Linked DNA regions of Homo sapiens: all the other regions are linked to region 3. The links are contacts of gene promoters, found by promoter capture Hi-C in human tissues and cell types (Jung and others, 2019). All regions are on one chromosome and are shown on one strand. The core of a region is centred on a gene start or on the middle of the fragment in contact, and the rest is flanking DNA. Distances in the headings are between cores, read along the strand shown.

The links. Contacts are between HindIII fragments. The study calls those that stand out against the background at their distance.
Region 1: a contact is called between a fragment that was not itself captured here and the fragment with the promoter of COPS8 in region 3, in 1 of the 25 tissues and cell types used here (bladder).
Region 2: a contact is called between a fragment that was not itself captured here and the fragment with the promoter of COPS8 in region 3, in 2 of the 25 tissues and cell types used here (IMR-90 fibroblasts and aorta).

The regions. Positions count from the first base shown.
Region 1 is chr2:237,335,819-237,339,307 of GRCh38, forward strand. COL6A3 (collagen type VI alpha 3 chain) reads right to left here. Exons shown (of 44, transcript NM_004369.4): 39 at 3,197-3,299; 40 at 317-714. Among named protein-coding and RNA genes, the nearest start is that of COL6A3, 77 kb to the right of the region's middle. RefSeq lists enhancers at 1-465, 466-966. The HindIII fragment of the contact is 4,175 bases long and covers 1-3,489 here.
Region 2 is chr2:237,315,098-237,318,433 of GRCh38, forward strand. No RefSeq gene overlaps it. Among named protein-coding and RNA genes, the nearest start is that of COL6A3, 97 kb to the right of the region's middle. RefSeq lists enhancers at 1-1,533, 133-733. The HindIII fragment of the contact is 4,187 bases long and covers 1-3,336 here.
Region 3 is chr2:237,083,319-237,087,138 of GRCh38, forward strand. It overlaps COPS8 (COP9 signalosome subunit 8), which reads left to right and starts at 2,571. Exons shown (of 8, transcript NM_006710.5): 1 at 2,571-2,724; 2 at 3,809-3,820. The coding sequence starts at 2,647. COPS8-DT (COPS8 divergent transcript) reads right to left here and starts at 2,503. Exons shown (of 3, transcript NR_187934.1): 1 at 838-2,503. RefSeq lists enhancers at 1,617-2,511, 2,152-2,701, 2,512-3,406. The HindIII fragment of the contact is 6,775 bases long and covers 1-3,780 here.

The sequences.
Region 1 (3,489 bases), core at 625-3,124, 250 kb after region 3:
ACCTTATTTCAACACGGAAACTTTTCCCTTTAGTTTAAGACAACTCAATTTTCAGGTGAGGTGAACTGTGCCCCCACTGACATTCCAGAGAGAATGAGAGCTTCCCATCCCTATCGCAAGACAGGATTGAGGGCACAGGATGGGGAGTGGGAGGCTGGAATCCCTAACCAACACCTCTTAAAATACATCATCCAGGTGTACAAGCCCAGATCAAGGACTGTATTCTGAGTGTGTTACATGCAGGCTTTGAGGAACACACCCTGGAGCAGGAAATGAGGATGTCACAAGATGGCAGCCCTAGCAAGGGCTTTCTTACCCATGGGCTTAGTGGTGGCTGGCTTGGTGGCAGCTGGTTTGGCTGCCTGTGGCCTAGGGACCTCAGGCTTGGTCGCCACTGGTTTTGCAGCAGCAGCAGCGGGGGGTCTTACAGCTGCTGGCTTTGCTGCTACAGGCTTCGCTGCCGTTGCTGGCTTCACCGCCACTGGGGGTCTAACAGTGGCCATCTTTGTGGCCACAGGCTTGGCAGCCACAGGTTTCGCAGGGGCCGGCTTTGCAGCGGCTGGCTTCACAGATGGCTGATTTATAATAGTCACAGGCTTTGTTGTGGTGGTTACAGGCTTTGTTGTGGTGGTCACCGGCTTCGTCGTAGTCACCGGCTTCGTTGTCGTCACTGGGTTGGATGTAGGACTTGAAGTAACGTTATTCGGAACATTTCTGTTAAGACAAATTAAATATTACCTCTACTTTTACCTGCTATCTAAAATAAATAAAGACATAACCCCATGAGCTACATTAAATTTGTTTTAGCAAAATGCATGCAATAGTTTTTATAGATTATGTATAGCAGTGCATATATTAAATTCCTTCTTTTAAGGATCTGTGCCTCCCTAAAAAAAGATATGGAACAGCATATTGAAAAATAGAACCATTAAAAATGAAGCTTATATTGTTCTACAAAAACATCTTTCAATTTCTAAAATAAAGGCAGAGAGAAAATAAGAGACAATAATGAATAATATCCAACAATGTTCTCATTATAGCAATTAACCAACCAAAACATACACCAAAAATTAAATGAAATCAGTAGTTAGCTACTTACATTATAAGAAAATATCCACTCAATCAAATGCTATGTTGAGCTGGAAAATTATAAAGTTAGCATGTACTATTTTGCTCCCAGGGCTTATTACTGGGAGTATATATATTTTTTATTTCTCTTAATTTTTGTGTATGTGTATTTTTTTTTACAATTTCTTGATCTATTACCAATATCTAGAGAGAATAGCAGCCTAATCAAACAGACATAACAACAAGGACCCACACTTCATAGCTTTCTTGATCTTAGAAGAAAATATATTATTTTATAGTCATATCTTGCTACTTGTCCTAGGAAGTATTAATATATTTTCAAGTTAATATCATAAGACTTCAAATACTAGGTTACTTCATTCATTCTGTTTTCCTAAAGATAAAAAGGTTGAGCCAATTTCAGGGAAGGTTTCAGAGAAAAAATACGAATCATTAGAGCCTAGAAAAATGGAGGCTACAAAGCTAAATGAAGCATCCAGTGCCACGATAAGGGTCCTAGTGGCCTTAGCAATGATATTCATTCTTGCTATGCTGAGATTTAAAGCCACTCCTTCTGAGGTCAAAAGAAAGAGCTGAAGGACTTAAGTGGTGATAGACAGAAGGGTCTGCAGTAGGAAGAGATGGGCTCTCTTTCCCCATCTTGAGAGTCAGCTAGTCGTAAGCCAGATAGTCATTTTTCAAGGATCATTTGCGTTCACATCTCATCTGTGTACGAAGTTCAGAATCTGCAGAATCTGCACTTCCCTCCAAAGCATGACACACTGTGACATTCTCTTAAGGAGCACACATTGCTGACACGCTGCAGGGGCTCAGTTCTTGCAGCCACATCACCCCAGCTAGCCCTCTGTTACATGCCCCCACTGCCCTCTTTGCTCCTAGGGTTGGCACCCGAGATGGAGCAGGGCATGAAACACGGCACATGGGCCAGGCAGCAGCATCGGCATGGGTGCCACAGTCCTGCCCACTCCCACCCCTCCCGTCAGTCTTCATAGAACATGCACATGACTTCCTATTATTACCATCATTACATGTTATCACAGCATTAATAATTTTAAGAAGACATGGAGTCTATTTTTTGATGTATCCAATCCTTCTTTTACGTAATCATTTCACACCAGATACGGTAAATTGTTTGGAACTATGGTCTCAATTATCTACCTTCTCTCTGCCCATGCCCTTTCAATGTAATGTGGCAAGTCCTTCCATCAAGCCTAGTTTTCCATTCTTAAATCTAGGTTAGCCTTTGGACATGCTTTGGTCAATAGAACGTGGCAGAAGTAACAGTGTGCCAGTTCTAACCTAGGTCACAAGAGGCCTTGCACACTTGTCTTCTCTCAGGGAACCCTGCCAGGTCACCTGGTGAACAAACCCAAGCTAGCCTGCTGAGAATGAGAGACCACATGGAGCAGAGATGAGCCAGCCCATCTGAGACCACTCTAGACCAGCAGCTCTATAGCTGACAAGCAGCTGACCACAAACATAAGGGATCCAAGGAGAAAACAGAAGAACCACCCAGTTGAGCCCAAACAAAAATTGCTAACCCACAGAATTGCAAATTAAATAAGTGGTTGTTGGCCAGGCCCAGTGGCTCATGCTTATAATCCCAGCACTTTGGGAGGCTGAGGCAGGCAGATCATTTGAGTTCAGGAGTTCTAGACAAGGCTGGACAACATGGCGAAACCCCATCTCTACTGAAAAAAAAATACAAAAATTAGCCAGGCATGGCTGCATGCACCTGTAGTCCCAGCTACTCGGGAGGCTGAAGCATGAGAATTGCTTGAATCCAGGAGGCAGAGGTTACAGTGAGCCAAGATTGCACAACTGCAGTCCAGCCTGGGCAACACAGCAAGACTCTGTCTCTAAATAAATTAAGTAAGAAAATAAATAGGTGGTTGTTGTTTTAAGCCACTAAGTTTTGGGTAGCTTGTTACATGGCAAAAGCTAACTGATAAAACAGATTATTTGAGAAGCATGACCCACATTACCTTTGGGAAGTCACATTTTCTGGATTTCAAGGTCCTCATCCCATAAAGTCAGGAGGTGGTTGGAGGACCTGTGCATTCCCTGCAGCGCTACAATTTTTAAGACAATAATTATAATCACTTACACTTGTTTGTGACCAAACTTCACAAGGTTCTTTGTGGGTTGGTCCCCTTGGAACCAATCACACTGTTTCCTGATATCTGGGGACAAGTAAAAAGCATTTTCACCTAAAGAAAAAAAACAAAGAAAACAATTGAACCGCATGCTAATAACATGAAAATTAAAATTAATCTGTCAACAAGTTAAATGAATCACATAACATTTATTTAGCCCATAATTATTGTTGAATTAACTATATCAGACAAACTATGTCCAGTGATTTTAAACATAAAGTATGATGGCATTGGATCCATAAAA
Region 2 (3,336 bases), core at 82-2,581, 230 kb after region 3:
GGAGGTCACAAAGGGAGTGACCCCGAGAGGCTCCAGAATGGTGCCCTTTCTCTGTACATCAACAATTAATTTGGGTTGGGGTTTGAGTAACAACTTCAGCCAAACAAGGGAATCAGCTGAGTCCTGATGAGGCTCCGCAGACAGTGCCTCCACTTCCACAGAAGACAGCCAGGCTGCGCGGCAGAGCCTGCTGAGCTGCACCCCGCTATTTTTAGTGCTGCTCTCTGCCACGCTGGCGAGGCTGTCCTGCTCAGTGGCAGGCAATGCGTTCCATGTGTGCAGGCTGGAATGCAGCGGCTGAACCAAGGCCAGCAGCAGAGCCTGTTTCCTTAAAAGGCAAGAGAAATTCAGATCACATGGCCACAGGGACAGGAGCATGGATCCTGGGACAGGAACGGATTTCCATCCTAGAGAGCTCTTCAGGGGCAAGTGAACTAACAGAGATCTGCTTATGAACGTGCTGTAGGTGAAAATGGATTTTTATATTGAAATTCAAATAAGTACAGGGATTTGAGCCGATTGTTCCATTGCATTCCGGTCGTCTCAGGAAAAGAGGTCCCTGTGTGATTTATTTGTGGCAGAGACCCTAGAGCCACTCATATAAATTCCCCTCAGACACTGACTTCACAAATCAAAGCTGTTTGGCCAGCTGGTTACAGCCTGATGTTAAGCAGACTCAGGCCTCAGCTCAAGCTTCTCCCAGGGCAACCTCGTGGAAAGAAACAGTTTTCTGAATATATTCTAAAACAGACTAGAATAGAATAGAATAAAACAGAATTAGAATATATTCTAATTTGAGACCTTTATTCTGAATATCATTAAACACGCATAAGTTTTTTCTGGAAACGGTTAATATTTATCTTTCTTATCCTGAAGTTGCATCTTACACTGAGTAGCATTCGTTCCCCCGCCCCATGAGGTGGGAAATTCAACAAACGACTCATTGTGTATAGATAAGGGCCAGGCAATCTATTGCCAAAGTCCTCTTTTGCCTCACAGAAAAACAAAGATAGAGACACTCTTGAGGTCCTTCTGCACAGCCCTAAACTTGTACTCAATCTTCGTACTGTTTTCCAAATCACTGTCTTAGGTCACAAGCATTAGACCTGGCCCAGGAATTAATGAAGGCCACCAGCAAATGAAGAAGACAGGAAAAAAGTGTGGTTAGGATGATGGGCACAGACCCCCAACATTCAAATCTAGACAGTCAGCAAAGTCATGTCTAGTTGAGGCAGTCAGGTTGACAGTCACATAAGGACCCAGTTTTCCTGTCCCACAGTGAGGAAACCACAATAGACTTTACGTGTCATTAAGTCTTATTACTTTAAGTGCTTCCCTTAAACAAAAACTAGAAAGCTTTGTTTCTGTTGTTTTGCCTCTTTTGGAAACTGTCAAGGGAGTTAGTAGGGAAGGTGATGCCTATACCTATGCCTATATAGGGTGAACTACAGACTCTTAAATGTCACTGATGACTGTGTGTCATGGCTGCATACACATGAACTTATACGGGAGCAGTGATGAACGCAGTCCTCCCATATCCTCCCCACCACAGCCCTCAGGTTCCCGCGTCTCTCCACAGGGGTGGGCTTAATTAACCTAACAGGGGTTCCGGTTGTTTTTGTTTTTTGTTTTTTGTTTTTTTGACGAAGTCTTGCTCTGTCACCCAGGCTGGAGTGTAGTGACATGATCTGGGCTCACTGCAATCTCCACCTCCTGGGTTCAAGTGATTCTCCTGCCTCAGCCTCCCAAATAGCTGGGATTATAGGCATGCACCACCACGCATGCATGGCTAATTTTTGTATTTTTAGTAGACGGGATTTCACAATGTTGGCCAGGCTGGTCTCAAACTCCTGACCTCAGGTGATCCACGGATTCTATTCTTATTCCCAACATTGGCTTAGAGGCATGCAACCCATTTCCAACCAATGGACTGCCAGGGGACATCTGCCAGGGAGCTTTCTGGAGAAAAGCCACAGAAAGGATGGTCTTCCTTCTTCCTTTAAATATCATTGTGTCCACATGAGACTTGTTACTAGCCTAAGAGTGGGGCCCAAGCTGAAAATAGTCCAGAGAGATGGGAAAACCTGGGTCCTTGATGGCATCTTTGACTCCTCCCACAGCCTGTGCTCTGGATTTCTGTGAAATGGGGACAACCAGTGACTTCGTGATCTAAGCCAATGCGAGATGGGGTTTCAGTTCCTGGCTGCTGAGAGCATCCTAACTCACTACATACCACAGCCCCAAGAATACTCTCTCCTTCCTGCTCTCTGTTTTCTAAACCATGAGCAGCATTCAGCACAGGTGACTGCTCTGTTCATTTTGACACAGCTTCTGCCAACGCTGTCCTTGCATGACACCTGTCTCTACTGATTCTCTTCTTATTTCTACAAACACTCCTCCTCAGCCTCTTTCACCAAGCCTGTCTTCTCTGCTCAACCTCTAACCGCCAGGGCACAGACAGGCCTCTCCTGACTCCCTGTCCCTCTTCATCTATACTCTCAAGCAATGAAATCGCACCATAAATCTAGGCTTCGAATATGGTATATTTCCAAACTGCTGAATGTATATCCTTAGCCCCACCCTCTCCTCTGAACTTCAACTGTCTTCCTCATATCACCGCTTCAAAGTTCAATAGCATCCTAAGTTCTAATACGCATGGCAGAATTTTTGATTGACTACCCCGCCTCCTCAAAGAATCACATGTCACACCCAGGACTGCCCGGCTTAAAGCTCCCAATGGCTTTCCATCACATTAAAGTACAATCCACAACTCGTTAGTTATGAAAGAGTTTTGGGGCCTGACTTGGCCATTCTCTCTCAGACTTCAACTCCAAAAATTTATCCGCTTATTTGTTTGACTCCAGCCACACTGGCCATCTTGCTGTTTCTCAAACATGTCACAGTCATTTCTCTACCCAGGATCTCAGATCCAGGCCCTCTCTGGATCTGGAATCTTCCTTCAGGTCTTCCCAAAGGTGGCTGTCTTGGGATTTTTTGTTGTTTGTTTTTTGTTTCTTGAGACAGAGTCTTGTTCTGTTACCAGGCTGGAGTGCAGTGGTGCGATCTCGGCTCACTGCAACCTCTGTCTCCCAGGTTCAAGCAATTCTCCTGCCTCAGCCTCCCTACTAGCTAGGATTACAAGCATGTGCCACCATGCCCAGCTAATTTTGTTGTTGTTGTTGTATTTTTAGTAGAGAGGTTTCACCATGTTGGCTAGGCTGGTCCTGAACTCCTAAGTGATCCACCTGCCTCGGTCTCCCTTGGTGCTGGGATTACAGACGTGAACCACCGTGCTGGCCTCTCTTGGTTTTTTTTTTTTTTTTTTTTTTTTAGCTC
Region 3 (3,820 bases), core at 1,321-3,820:
TTCACATTATAGTTTTCCCTTTAAATGATCAAATAGCCAAGCAGGGCTTCTATTGAATATTTCTTTGCCCGAAAAGGGTTAGAGACCATTATTACAAGCTTCAAAATCCTGCTCCTCATAGTTCTGTCAAGTGATCTTAGAATCATACTGCCCTCAGTCCTTCTCTTCCTTGCAGCCGTGGATGAAACTCTGTTGCTTTATTACTCCAAGATCTCTCTAGTTCTGCTAACTACTTATGTGCCCTTCTATTTAATGTTGGCAGTTCCTTGAGGAACACACAAGTGTTTTTTTTTTTCTTTACATTTCATTCAGGGAATTACTAAACAATCATTTCCACACAGAGATGTTGTGGATTACGCCAAAAAAAAAAAAAAAATCAAGGATGGCTGTCTCTGTCTTGAAATGCTTAATAATTTTATCTGTAAACTTGTGGTTTGTAAGTGAGGTCCATTAAGACAATGGAGCATGAGCCAGGGAAACGGGCCTCTACGTGTGGCCACTGATGTTCCATACAGCATTCATAATGCACCATGCACACTGAATTCCCTGTGGACCCCTGATGTTGCGAGGCCAGCAAGACTCAAAGTGAGCACAAGGTACTCGTGCTGTATCTACAACTGAGGGAGCTGGGTGCTGACACCCCAAAAGGCCGCACTTTTCCCCTTAAGAGAGTAAACTTGTTTCGAAGGCAGAAAGAAGGCAATGGTGTCTTAAGAAGCATGAAGAAACCATATTGTATGAGTCATGGTTCTCTAGAGGGACAGAACTAATAGGATATATATATTTATATATATATATATAGAGAGAGAGAGAGGAGTTTATTAAGTATTAACTCACATGATCACAAGTCCCACAATGGGCAGTCTTCAAGCTGAGGAACAAGGAGAGCCAGTCCAAGTCCCAAACTGAAGAACTTGGAGTCTGATGTTCGAGGGCAGGAAGCATCCAGCGTGGGAGAAAGATGTAGGCTGGCAGGCTAGGCCAGTCTCTCTTTTCGCATTTTTCTGTCTGCTTTACATTTCTAGCTGCACTGGCATCTGATTAGATGGTGTCCATCTAGATTAACAGTGGGTCGAACTTTCCCAGCCCACTGACTCAAATGTTAATCTCCTTTGGCAACACCCTCACAGACACACCCAGGATCAATACTTTGCATCCTTCAATCCAATCAAGTTGACAGTCAGTATTAACCATCACTCATATCATATATTTTCTTATTCATGCACTTCTTTATATTAGACACCTGATCATGCCAAAAGGCCAGTCCATAGTTCTTTTGCTTTTCAGTCCTTCCTTACGCATCGGTGAGTCCCAGGTCGAGAGTAGAGGTAGAATTCGTGCACGTAAAGTGCGATGAAAACGGGCAAGTTCACTTTGTGCAGCATCTGTTTTTACCAGCGTGGTTCTGGTAAAAACAAAATCTATATGCATGTATAAGCTATGAAGTACAAATTGCATAATTTCTGTGATTCCACATATGAGATCAGTGCACTTATATTAGTATTTAAAACTGGCATTGCACAACGTAAAGATGGATGGTGAACTTCATGCTAACAATTTAAATCTAAATTTTTCTTGGAATGATATTAAATAACACATAAAAACACTATGAAAAGAGAGAAACTGAGAGGAAAGAGAAAGTTTTATATTTTATGACCTCAGAGGCACTTTCTTTCTGTTTTTTGAACAAGGAAGCTCCGCACTTTTCTCTGAGCTCCACAAATTATGCAGCCAGCCTTGCAGCAGGCAACACATCAAAGCCTCTTTCCTGGGGGTCTAGTGAGGGATGTAAAACACAAATATGTTAATAATATACAATATAATGTCACTAACAGTAAGTGCTGTGCTAAACAAAAGCCAGGATGGCTACAGCAAGCCGGAGGGGAGCTGAGAATTAGATGTAAATTCTGAGGGATGGGAAGGGCCCTAGATTTTAGGGCGTTGTGCAGAAGAGTAACCAGATCTGCTCTACGTTTCAGGAAAGGAAAAAAAAATTCCCTCTGGCTGCGGTTCCGAGAATAGCCTGGAAGGAGGCAGGGGTCCCGGCTGGAGAAGCGTGGCTCCGGGGTGGGGCGTGCAGGGCTAGCCCGGGCGGGGGACGCTGCCCAACAAGCAGGTTTGCGGAGACTCACACCTTAGATTCTGAGTTTTTAAGCTTGTTTCCTCAGAGCAGGGAACTCACGAACGTTTCGTGAGCACCTACGGTATGCAGGGTACGGTGCGGAGCCCTAGCGTCACTGACGACCGGGACAGCCGAGCAGCTGCAGGATCCGTCGTGTTCCCCAGCAATTTTAATATTTAAAAATTCGTTACTGTTGCTGTTACTTGTTTTCTATGTATTGGATGTCTTCGTGAAGAACCCTCAAAAGTGCAACGAACTCCTCCCTGCCAGAGGGCGGCCGCGCGCTCTGAGTACAGCTTCCCGCGGAGCCGGCCAGGTCCTCCAGGGCACCGAGAAAGCCGGCCAGAACGGCGGCGCCCTATCCCGGCCGCAGCGATGTCTGACGGCGCCCCGGAACTGACGGTCTGGTACGCAGGGGCGCTCGGCGGCAACGGCGGCTTTAAACGTCATCGCGGGCGCGACGCCTGAGGGACAGTCTGGGGTTTGGCTGTCCGGACGGTGCAGCGGCGAGGCCGGCCGCGAAGATGCCAGTGGCGGTGATGGCGGAAAGCGCCTTTAGTTTCAAAAAGTTGCTGGATCAGTGCGAGAACCAGGAGCTCGAGGTAACCCTTTGCGTCGCGCTGGGAGAAACTGCGGAGTAGTCTTAGGCCCTGGGGCGGCACCAGTTTCCAGGGTAACGGGGTCTGAGGCTAGCGGGCTTTGGGAGCTCACGGGGCGGGCGTGGGAGGTGGACGTGTGGATCCCTGACCGCCGCAACCTGCTCCGACCGGGCCCGGTCTCCCCGAACTCGCCGGGACCTTTTTGTTATGTGTCTTCAGCTTGTGAGCCCGAAAACCCTGTGCGTCTTTGCTCCAGCACCTACCGATGAGCTCATATTAATTAGGCATCTTTCCTTCCCAGTATCGGGTTGGGAGAGGGTAGTAAAGTGGGTTTTATTAAAGATCTTGGTATACACACACACACTAACACACACACCGCAACTCACACGCACACCAAGAAAAATGTGACCATTGTAACCTTTTTTTAACTCACAAAGCCTTTCTCGTAATGTTGTCAAGTTAGCTTGCCATTTTGTCTTCAGTAAGACAGATGAAAGTTATGCAGCTGTTAAAGTTAATGTTTTTCTTAGACACTTAAAAAGGGTTTATATCATTAGTTTTAAAATTAAATAAAGGAGACAACATCCAGAAGCAGCAGCTCACTAATAGATAATAGATACTTTCCAGTTGAGTTAAAATGGAAAGAATTGTCTTTGCAACGCAGCTGTGGTGATTTTCTGTCTCTTATTCAGGACGCTTGATGTAATGGGCAGAATCAGAATGCTTCAGGAATCTGTCGAATTTGTTTCTTATAATAGTAAGATCATTTAAATGGGAATTTGAGAACTGGGGAAGGGGATCCACTTACATATTCTTGAATGTATAAAGAAACTGAAGCCCAAAGGGAGATAAATCAAAGCTGATGACGAATATAAACTTAATACTCAGAATTTTCGTGTTTGATACTTCTCTAAGCTGTTTCTAAATCTATAATAGGACTATAAGATTACTTATAGTCTTAGACTAAAAAGGCTTACTTTTAAAATTAGCATTTATAAAATATTATTTTAAAAATGAAAGTTAAAGGGTAAATGAGGTTTTTAAAATTTTGTGTTGTTTTGTTTTGTTTTCATTTTTGGCCTTCTAGGCCCCTGGAGGA